Regions from separate parts of the Homo sapiens genome. Here region 1 is linked to region 2. The links are contacts of gene promoters, found by promoter capture Hi-C in human tissues and cell types (Jung and others, 2019). All regions are on one chromosome and are shown on one strand. The core of a region is centred on a gene start or on the middle of the fragment in contact, and the rest is flanking DNA. Distances in the headings are between cores, read along the strand shown. Region 1 overlaps VPS37B (VPS37B subunit of ESCRT-I). Region 2 holds the start of RILPL1 (Rab interacting lysosomal protein like 1).

Region 1 (5,287 bases), core at 2,766-5,265, 650 kb before region 2:
GGCAGTGAAATGGAAAGGGGGAAAAATGAAGATGATGACACTGATGGCTGGAAAGCGAAGCTACCCATTAACTGTGGTGAAACATGAGACACAAAACACACACGGAGACACAGACACAAGCTGGCTTTGTGCGACGCTTCTCTTCACTGAAATCAGCCCTCTCCCACTTAGAAAGCATATCAGAATGTTAGAGTAGCATTACTGTCATGAGAGCCTCGAAGCCACTATATTTACACGTGTAATTTACACACCGGTGCAGTAGCTCACGCCTGTCATTCTAGCACTAAGGAAGGTAGAGGCAGGAGGATTGCTTGAGCCCAGGAGACCAAGACCAGCCTAGGCAACGGAGTGAGGCACTGATCTCCACAGAAAGGAAAAAAAAAAAACAAACACGACACACACACAGAAAAACCCTAATCCCAAGCTTCCATTTCTACAGCTCATCAGGGCCACAATGACATGCTCCAGCACAGTGGTTGGCCCATTCATCTGTTCGTTCATTCATACAAGAAATACTTGGGAAGCACCTCTGTGTGCCAGGCTCGGGGGAGACACCATCATCACAGGGAGTCTGGCTCAGAGTCTCAGTCAAGCCCATCCTCCTACGTAAGGCACTGAGCGTTGTGCACTGCCCAACTCCAGGGGGTGCCATTCACTTCGTACTGCAGCACTGCATACCCGCACAGACTGCATCTGCTCTTCCAATAAAAGGCTCAAAAGAGAAAAAGGGGAAAAATCAAAACAGATGTGATTTTAACGGTTTAAGTAAGACAAGTTACTGGTGCTGATCTGAAAACTTTGCTCTTGTCAGTATCTTCCACATTTCAACAAAATTTGCTGACATTTGTTGAGCATAGCTAGCATGTGCCACCTTCTCTTAGTTCCACTGTCTCCATTCTATCCTCTGTGACAGTGAGACAAATTTGTCCTCATTTTACTCAAGAGACAGGAAACACAATCTTAGGAAGGTTAAACGAGCTGTCAAAGTTACAACTGCTAGTAACTCCCTCCAGAGCTGCGATCTTAACTACTGTGCAGTGGCTCACGCCTGTAGCCCCAGTTACTTGGGAGGCTGAAGCAAGAGGATCACTTGAGCCTAGGAGTTCAAGGCCAGTCTAGGCAACATGGTGAGACCCTATCTCTAAAAATAAATTATGCCAGGTATGGTGGCTCATGGCTGTAAACCCAGCACTCTGGGAGGCCCAGGCAGGCAGATTGTTTAAGCCCAGGAGTTGGTTGGAGAACAGCCTGAGCAATAAAGTAAGACCCCATCTCTACAAAAAATAAAAAATGAGCCAGCCATGGCAGCATGCACCTGTGGTCCCAACTACTGGGAGGCTGAGGAAGGAGGCTTGCTTGAGCCAGGGAAGGCAAGACCGCAGTGGGCTGTAATCACACCACTACACTCCAGCAGAGGATCAAATGGAAATTTACTAGTTTACTATTTCTCTATTTTCATGTTATAACAACAATCATCTAAGGTTCATTCCTATTTATACCTTTTTTAAAAAAACCTTTTATAGAAGATACTTTCAAAAAGTAAAGGTAGAGAGATGAGTATGATGAAACTATGTATAACCGTCTCCTAGGTTCGACAATTAGCAACATTTGCCAATCTTCATCTATATTCCCGCTTTTTTTTAAAAGTAGTTTAAAGCAAACTTCGAGCATCATCATTCATGCTTAAAAATTTTATATTTCTAACAGGTAAGAACTTTTTAACCCTAGCTACAATGCCATAATCACATTTAGCAAAATTCACAATAATCCTTTAATATCATCCTCTGCATGTGTTGGCTCAATTTCTTCTATAAAAAACTTTTTGCCTCATCTATTTGACTACATGAAATACAGTTTATATAGGAAAAGCTGGATAAATGCTTGGTTCTTTTTTTTTTCTTTTTAAACCAACTTTTGGAAGACTGAGTTCATACCTGAGCAAACTCCAAAAATGACCAATAAGCTTTTTGGGAGTATCATTATGAAGTAATGAAGTTTTTATCTCTGATAAAAGGCTGTTCTGGGACACCACTGCTGCCCTGCTCTCCAGTAAAATATGTCTAAGACCAATCCTGTACATTTGCTGCCCCCAAGCTTAGCTGGCCCTTCTCAAAGGAATACTAGTTCCTTTTGGTGGGAAATTTGATTTTCACCTTTTCCTCTCCAGATAAAATTAAATTCAAAGTTATCTATAACACAAAGAAAAGGAATAAAACAAATCTTAGCTTTTGTACTATTCTACTACTAGAAATATTCTCAAATTGCATTAAGACCTTAAATGCAGCAGGCTTATGGGTTAGGTTTGATAAAGAAAGGCTGCCATACATTCAGCTAGGTTAACTGCATCTCTTTTTATTTTACTATACTTGATTTATCACACCAACTAATTTCAAGGTAAATTTCACCAAAGTAACATGCAATTTGAGTTTGAGCTTTACATTAAAGGCTAGGTTATTTAAAAGTCCAAATTCACCTTCATTCAGTAAAAAGATATTCCCAATGACAAACTAATTTCACCAGTCTCCACCTGAATTCAGGTCTTCAGGTGAAGCCTGTAACCCAAGCCTACGATGGCCCTTAGATGTGCTGTAAACACATTAATGTGGCTTAATTCAAATCTTCAGTTTTACTGAAACAAACTTAACAGTTGCGGAGTTGGACTATTAACATGTTGACAAAATTAAAAGATCTGCAAATACAGAAATATAGTTAAAGAATCGGAGAACATTATGAAACAGTCCTAAAATACGACAATCCTGGGGGTTGTGTGAAACCATCTCCAAGGCTACAGCCCACTCAGGAAGGAAACTTACCAGCTGCTTATCGAATGTTCCACCAAACAACCCACTCCACACACAGAACCTCTAACTTCCAACTATTAGATTAATAAAGATAGCTATTTTTATCGGAGACATCAAAATCCTTCTTGAGAGAAAACTTGCTTCCCTCGAAAAGGAACAGACAGTGAGATCTAGACTCAAACGATCCCCTCCATATGTAGCTGACGTGAATCTAAAAATTGGTACGTGTGAGTGCAGCTAACCACAGAAACACAAAAAGCTAGGCTCGAAAATAAATGGACTATTCCTAGGTAAGATGGAAAGTGACACACTTGACAGTTTCTAGGGCTGGCAGGCACAACTTACCAGGAGAGGGTTTGGTTTTTCCTAGAAGACATATTTTCTTTTCTTTTTTCTTTTTTTTGAGACAAGAGTCTCACTCTGTCACCAGGCTGGAGTGCAGTGGCACGATCTCAGCTCACTGCAACCTCTGCCTCCTGGGTTCAACCAGCCTCAGCCTCCCAAGTAGCTGAGACTACAGGTGTGCACCACCACATCCAGCTAATTTTTGTATTTTTAGTAGAGATGGGGTTTCACCATGTTGGCCAGGATGGTCTCGATCTCTTGACCTCGTGATCCGCCTGCCTTGGCCTCCCAAAGTGCTGGGGATTACAGGCGTGAGCCACCGTGCCTGGCCAGAAGACATATTTTCTAATACTCAGAGGAAAAACAAGCTCTCCCTTCTTCTTGGACTTATAATGTGGATAATGGTGTCAGTAATAAAGAAATATACTAACAGGTGTCAATGGTTCTGATAACTGGCATATGTTATAAAATGTCCTAACTGGCTTCAGAATAACTGGAGACCTTGGAGGAAGGAGGGCAGGAGTGAGGATCAGAAGACAAGATGGGACACCCACACAGATCACAAAGTTAACTGCCTTTGTCCTCTGGCCCTATCCTAGGCCTTCCGAATTAGAATCTCAGCAGTAAAGGCCAGGAAATGCACAGCGGAGCCCTCCACTCCACATCATCAGAACCAGTTAGGTCCCTGTAACTGAGCAGTTTGGTTAAAGCACACACTAAGCATTTTAAAAATCTGTTGTCAATGTTTCATTTAAGGTAAAGGTCTTTTCTTAAGGGAAGGGGTCCACTAGAAGTTCTTTTTCCAATAGGCCACGCCTTTTCCTGTGGGGTGGGAACTGGACACCGGATAAGCAATCAGGGCAGAGTCCGAGTCCTTTGGGAATTCTTCCACTTCCCCTATCTAGTCCAGACCTAATTCACCACCAAGTTTTCTTTCAAGAGAATCAATTTATATCTATGCTTTCCAAAGCACTCAGTTGACAGTTTTTGTAGAAATAACTTTCTCTTTGCACTCATGCAAAAATCCAGTTGCCCCAGGATTTAATGAAATCATAGAACTATTGTAATAAAACCAGAATGAACAGATCTGGGAGTGAACACATTTGATCCTGTGTAAGTATGAGATTCCAGTGTAGGAGCAGAAATGTCCAGATACCTAGTCATGACCACCTGACCATGAGGGGTGTCAGTTAATAGCTTCTACTCCCCTCCCATCTCAAAAAAAAAACCAGCTTACGGAAGACAGAATTCCTAAAATTCTGATTTTCTTATTAATAGTTTCTGGCCAGGACCAACAACCAAAGCATTCATTTGTTTAGGAAGAGCTTCGGGTTTTATTGTTTGTTTTTTCCCCCTCATCTCTATTTCCTTTTTACAATTTCTGGAAATTCATGTCTAAGAATTCTTCGGACCAGTCTTTACACAGGTGCAAATAAGAAAGTGCCTATCCAGGTGGACCCTGGATTTATGTTTATTAAGACTGTATCTTTTGACAATTTTGTTTTTACATTTAAAATACATCATGACATGAACTTTCCAACACCTGACCCGGAATTTGGTTCAACAGATAAAATTTAACTCTCACGTGACTCCAATTACTCATCTTCTATTCCGTTTAAATGAGAAAATGCTATTCTAATAATGGAATTTTTTTTTTCAGTCTGTGGTTAGGGAAAAAAGGGATTAGTCAAAAGAGAATCTGTTGAGATTACTCCACTGAAATTTCGTAATTAAAAAACTATATAATCATATTTCATGTAGGGGATCAGATATTTTACCTAAAAACTGCCTAGACACTTAAGACTTACTAAAAAAAAAAAAAGTTAAATGTTGATCACTTTAACGTATTTGTTTTAAACAGATTTCAAAGATGTTAACTGCATTATAATTTATGACAGCAAAAAAGTGCCTAAATATCCAATAAAGGAATGGTTATATAAATGACATATCCACATGAAAGATCACATAGCTGTTAAAAATCATGTCATGTAAGAATATTCTGATTTAAAAAATAAGAAAATACCCAGAGTATAACTTTAGGTTAAAATCAAACAAAAACTCTACAAAAACTCTAAAAAATCATCCCAAAAGGGAACAACAAAGGAAAAAAACTTAAATGCTTTGTTAACAGTGTTTATCTC
Region 2 (4,743 bases), core at 467-2,966:
TGGCAATGGTGCTGTTACCTACCTGTGGGTCTGCCCTCAGGTAAAGGGTTCAGACCCAGCTTTGGCTATTTTACTCCAAAACACAGAGATCCATCAAAGTACACAATAAGGGATGGCCTGCCCCTGAGGTTCAGAGAGGCCATCTGTATTTCCTGAGGCTGAACAGCAAGCTGGAGACTGCTCAGGCACCCTGATCCCTCAAGGAAAGGTGTTTCCTCCCATTCTCAGTCTGAAGGGGCTGCCAAGAGCATCCCTGGCTGAGGTTAGGGCAGGAAACCACATGTCTTTCACTTCCTTTTCTCCAGAAACCTCGTCTGAACTCCAGGCCCAGTGGGGAGGCCCTGATTCAGAGAGACTCCTGATCACAGGGCAGAGGCTTAGCCTTAAAGCCACCCCAAATCATCCCTTTCCCCCAATTCAAACAGGGTGGGGAGGAGACACGGGGGCTGGGACTCTCTCACCACTAATTTGGGACAAATTGCTCCTCCCACTGTGACCCTCGGTTTCTTTATCTGTAAAATGAAGATAGTCTCTATAGAGTCCTGTGAGGATTAAGGATAAAATCAGAGGAGAGAACACGGGCTACCACAGGTTCATAAGCTAGGGGAGTCCCGGGAAGAAAGTTGCAAATATGAACCCGAAGACTAGGGGTCACGAAGCTCAGTGGCTGGAGGTCACATTCCCTTTGCTCTGGGGAGACTGGGGGGGGGGGGGATGAAGAAAGGGTCCTGGGCCTGATGTCACATCTTCTTGGTAACTCGGGAGGCCAAGAGGCTTATTTCATGTCTGGAAGAGAATAATATGTCTAAGCACTTAGCTTATATGGTCCCATTTAATTCTTCTAAGGTGGGTCCTATTATGATTACCATTTGACAGGTGAGGAAATAAAGCACAGAGAGGTTAAGTAACTTACCTAAAGTCACACAGCTATTAAACGGTAAAGGTGGGATTGGAACTCCAGAGAACAGCTCTTAATCTCTCGGGTGGTATCTGCCAGCCACCCCTGGTCGGGCAAAAGAAGGCCAGGGCCTCCCTCCCTCCCCACGTCGGGTCTCCTCTGGTCCGGTCCCTGAACACACACACGTGCGCACCCACAGCTGCCCAATGCGGAAGAGCCCTTGGGTCCCCGCGGTCCCACTGCCCGGACGGACAGACCGAGGCCGCCGCCCACCTTCTGGTGCTTGCGCTCCTTCTCGATGCGGTCCATCCTCTCCAGGCGCAGGCGGTCCAGCTCCAGGCGCAGCTCGTCCAGCTCGGGCGCGACGTGGTGGCGGCTGACCAGCACCTCCAGGATCTCCAGGACGCGCACGACCTTGGGCATGAGGCGCGCGATGGCCTCGCAGCCGTGCTGGTCAATGACCCGCTCGAACTCGTGGCCCACAAGCGACGCGATGTCGTACACGTCCATGACGGTCAGCTCGGCCACGTTCTTCTCCAGCGCCGACTCGGCCGCCAGCGCCGACCCCCGCTCCTCCTCCATGGCCACCCTCCTGGCCTGTCCCCCGCCCCGCAAACTCGTGCAACTCCCAAACTTGCCGCTGTCGAGGGCCGGGCCGGCCGGGCCCAGCCTGGGCCGCGGGCGGGCGCGCTCAGCGGGCGCTGGGGCGAGGGCGCAGCGGGCAGCGGGCGGCGGGCGCGGGCGCGGGCACGGGCGGCGGCGCGGGGTGTGCGGGCCCGGGGTCTGGGCGCCCGGCTCGGCCCGGAGCTGCTCCCGAGTGGGCGGCGGCGGCGGCGGCGGCGGCGGCGGCAGCGGGGAGGGCGCGCGCGTGCGCAGGCCCGCGGCGCCTCCCAAGTTGGGATCCGAGTTGCGCTCAATGGAGCCGGGCCGGGCGCCTCGGGGCGGTGCGGGCCTGAGGGGCGGCAGAGCGCGGGGCCGGAGAGGAAGGGCGGCCCGCGGCTCCTCCGGGAAACTTTGGCGGCGGCGGCTGCGAGGCCGGGTGATCGCTTCCCCACAGGGAGGCCGCGCGCCCCGCCCCAATCCCGGCCTGGCCAGGGGCGCGCCCGCTTTCCGCCGCCCGGGGGCGCCCCGGGGTACCCCCCCAAGCGCCGACTCCGCGGCCTGCACTCCGGGCCCCCCTCTCCAGCCGCCGGACCCGCGGCGCCCCTCACCCGTGCCCCGGCCGCCCCTCCCCCGCCCGGCGCTGACTCCTCCCACCACCCGGCCGCCGGGAGGGGTCCAGGCCGCCCCGGGAGAGGGGGCCGGGGGCGCTGGTCTCGCGGGACGATTCGCTGCTCCGGGTAGCGGCCCCGGCCTTGGAGAGGGATGGAGGGGTCACGAGGAGGTCCCCGGGCTGGGGCTCATCCCAGGAAGAGAACGGGGACCCCCCCCGGCCCGCAGACACTCCGCGCAGACCCGGCCACCAGGCGGACTTGCAGAGGCGCCCGGAGAGGGGCCGACGTGTCGAGGAATGCTGGATCCCCGGAGCCCCAGGGCGCGCCTCCCCGAGCCACATCCATCACTGGCTCCTTGTGACATGAACGCCACTTCACAGTAGAGCGAAGCCCGCTTGGCATTCCAGCACCACGAGTTCTCTTGTCCCAAGGCCCCCTGTCCATTTGGGCTGGCCAAATCCACTTGTCCATCAGACCCCCTCCCACTCCCGGGAGAACGTTTCCTGAACCCAGAACCCCATCCACCCTCCCCGCCCCCCACGCAGGAGTTAAGGACCCCCTTGCAAACTCACAGTCCCCTGCTTGCCCCATCAGGATTGCTCTTAGCATCCTGAGTTTTCACCGTGTGGTTGCAGGTAGGTTTCCACCGTCAGATCTTGGCTCCTTGAGGGAAGAAATCTTAATGCCCTTGTAGCCATAAAGCGCACCCCAACGTGGCACGTATTGATTAAAAATCTAAAAGTTGGCCGGGCGCGGTGGCTCACGCCTGTAATCCCAGCACTTTGGGAGACTGAGGTGGACGAGGTCAGGAGTTCAAGACCAGCCTAGCCAAGGTGGTGAAACCCCGTCTCTACTAAAAATACAAAAATTAGCCGGGCATGGTGGCGCATGCCTGTAATCCCAGCTACTCAGGAGGCTGAGGCAGAGAGTTGCTTAAACCCGGGAGGCGGAGGTTGCAGCAAGCCGAAATCGCGCCACTGCACTGCAGGCTGGGTGACAGAGCAAGACTCCATCTCAAAATAATAATATAATACAATAAATAAATAAATAAATAGTAAAAAAAAAAAAATTAAGGCCAGGCGGGGTGGCTCACGCCTGTAATCCCAGCACTTTGGGAGGCCGAGGTGGGAAAATTTCTAGAGCTCAGGAGTTCGAGACCAGCCTGGCCAACATGGTGAAACCACGCCTCTACTAAAAATACAAAAATTAGCCAGACATGGTGGCATGTGCCTGTAATCCCAGCTACTCAAGAGGCTGAGGCGCGAGAATCATTTGAGCCTGGGAGGCAGAGGTTGCAGTGAGCCAAGATCGTGCCACTGCACTCCAGCTTGGGCAACAAGAGCGAAACTCCGTCTCAAAAAAAAAAAAGAAAAAAAAAAAAGTAAAATAAAAAAATTAGCCAGACGTGGTGGTGAGAGCCTGTAGTCCCAGGTATTTGGGAGGCTGAGGTGGGAAGATCCCTTGAGCCTGGGAGGCAGAGGTTGCAGTGAGTTGAGATCACACCACTATGCTCCAAACTGGGCGACAGAGCGAAACTCTGTCTCAGAAAAATAAAAAATAAAAATAAATACTCCTGGCCACAGTGGCTCATGCTTGTAATCCTAGCACTTTGGGAGGCCAGGGCTGGAGGATCACTTGAGCCCAAGATTTCGAGACCAGCCTGGGCAGCATGGCAAAACCCCGTCTCTATTTAAAAAAAAGTCTGGTTGCAGTGACTTATGCCTGTAATCCCAGCACTTTGGGAGGCCAAGGGGGGCAGATCAGTTGAGGTCAGGAGTTCAAGATCAGCCTGGCCAACATGGTGAAACCTCATCTCTACTAAAAATACAAAAAAAAAAAAAAATTAGCCAGGCGTGGTGGCAGGCGCCTGTAATCCCAGCTACTCAGGAGGCTGAGGCAGGAGGATCACTTGAACCCGGGAGGCAGAGGTTGCAGTGAGCTGAGATCGAGATCGTGCCACTGCACTCCAGCCTGGGTGACAAAGCGAGACTCTGTCTCAAAATAAATAAATAAATAAATTAATTAATTAATTAAATAAAAATTACCCGACTCTGGTGGCAAGTGCCTGTAGTCCCAGCTACTCGGGAGACTGAGGTGGAAGGATGACTTGAGTCCCAGGGAGCAGAGGTTGCAGTGAGCTGTGATTACACCACTGCACTCCAACCTGGGTGACATAGGGAGACCCTGTCTCAAAAACAACAAAAAAACTCATACGTTATCTAGCACGGTGGCGTGAGCCTGTAGTTCCAGCTACTCCAGTGGGAGGATCCCTTGAGTTCAAGAGTTCTAGTCTAGCCTGAGCAATGTAGGTAGACTGTTTCTAAAAAAATAAAAAGTTAAAAAAATTTATGTTAACGTGTAATGTGTTTACTAATTTTTTTTTTTTTTTTTGGAGACAGAGTCTCCCTCTGTCGCCAGGCTAGAGTGCAGTGGCTCGATCTCAGCTCGCTGCAGCTTCGACCTCCCAGGTTCAAGCAATTTCCCTGCCTCAGCCCCCAAGTAGCTAGGATTACAGGCGCATGCCACCATGCCTGGCCGATTTTTTTGTATTTTTAGTAGAGAGGGGGTTTCACCATGTTAGCCAGACTGATCTCGAACTCCTGACCTCAGGCAATCTGCCTGCCTCAGCCT

The links. The method cuts DNA at HindIII sites, captures the fragments that hold promoters and counts their contacts. A contact is called where the count stands out against the background at its distance.
Region 1: a contact is called between a fragment that was not itself captured here and the fragment with the promoter of RILPL1 in region 2, in 1 of the 25 tissues and cell types used here (spleen).

What each region holds. Positions count from the first base shown.
Region 1 is chr12:122,880,302-122,885,588 of GRCh38, forward strand. The region is part of intron 1 of VPS37B (VPS37B subunit of ESCRT-I); the gene reads right to left. Among named protein-coding and RNA genes, the nearest start is that of VPS37B, 13 kb to the right of the region's middle. The HindIII fragment of the contact is 7,734 bases long and covers 149-5,287 here.
Region 2 is chr12:123,532,003-123,536,745 of GRCh38, forward strand. RILPL1 (Rab interacting lysosomal protein like 1) reads right to left here and starts at 1,717. Exons shown (of 7, transcript NM_178314.5): 1 at 1,172-1,717. The coding sequence starts at 1,480. MIR3908 (microRNA 3908) reads left to right here and starts at 4,407; the gene lies at 4,407-4,532. RefSeq lists an enhancer at 718-1,535 and silencers at 1,751-2,440, 2,460-2,645. The HindIII fragment of the contact is 25,082 bases long and covers 1-4,743 here.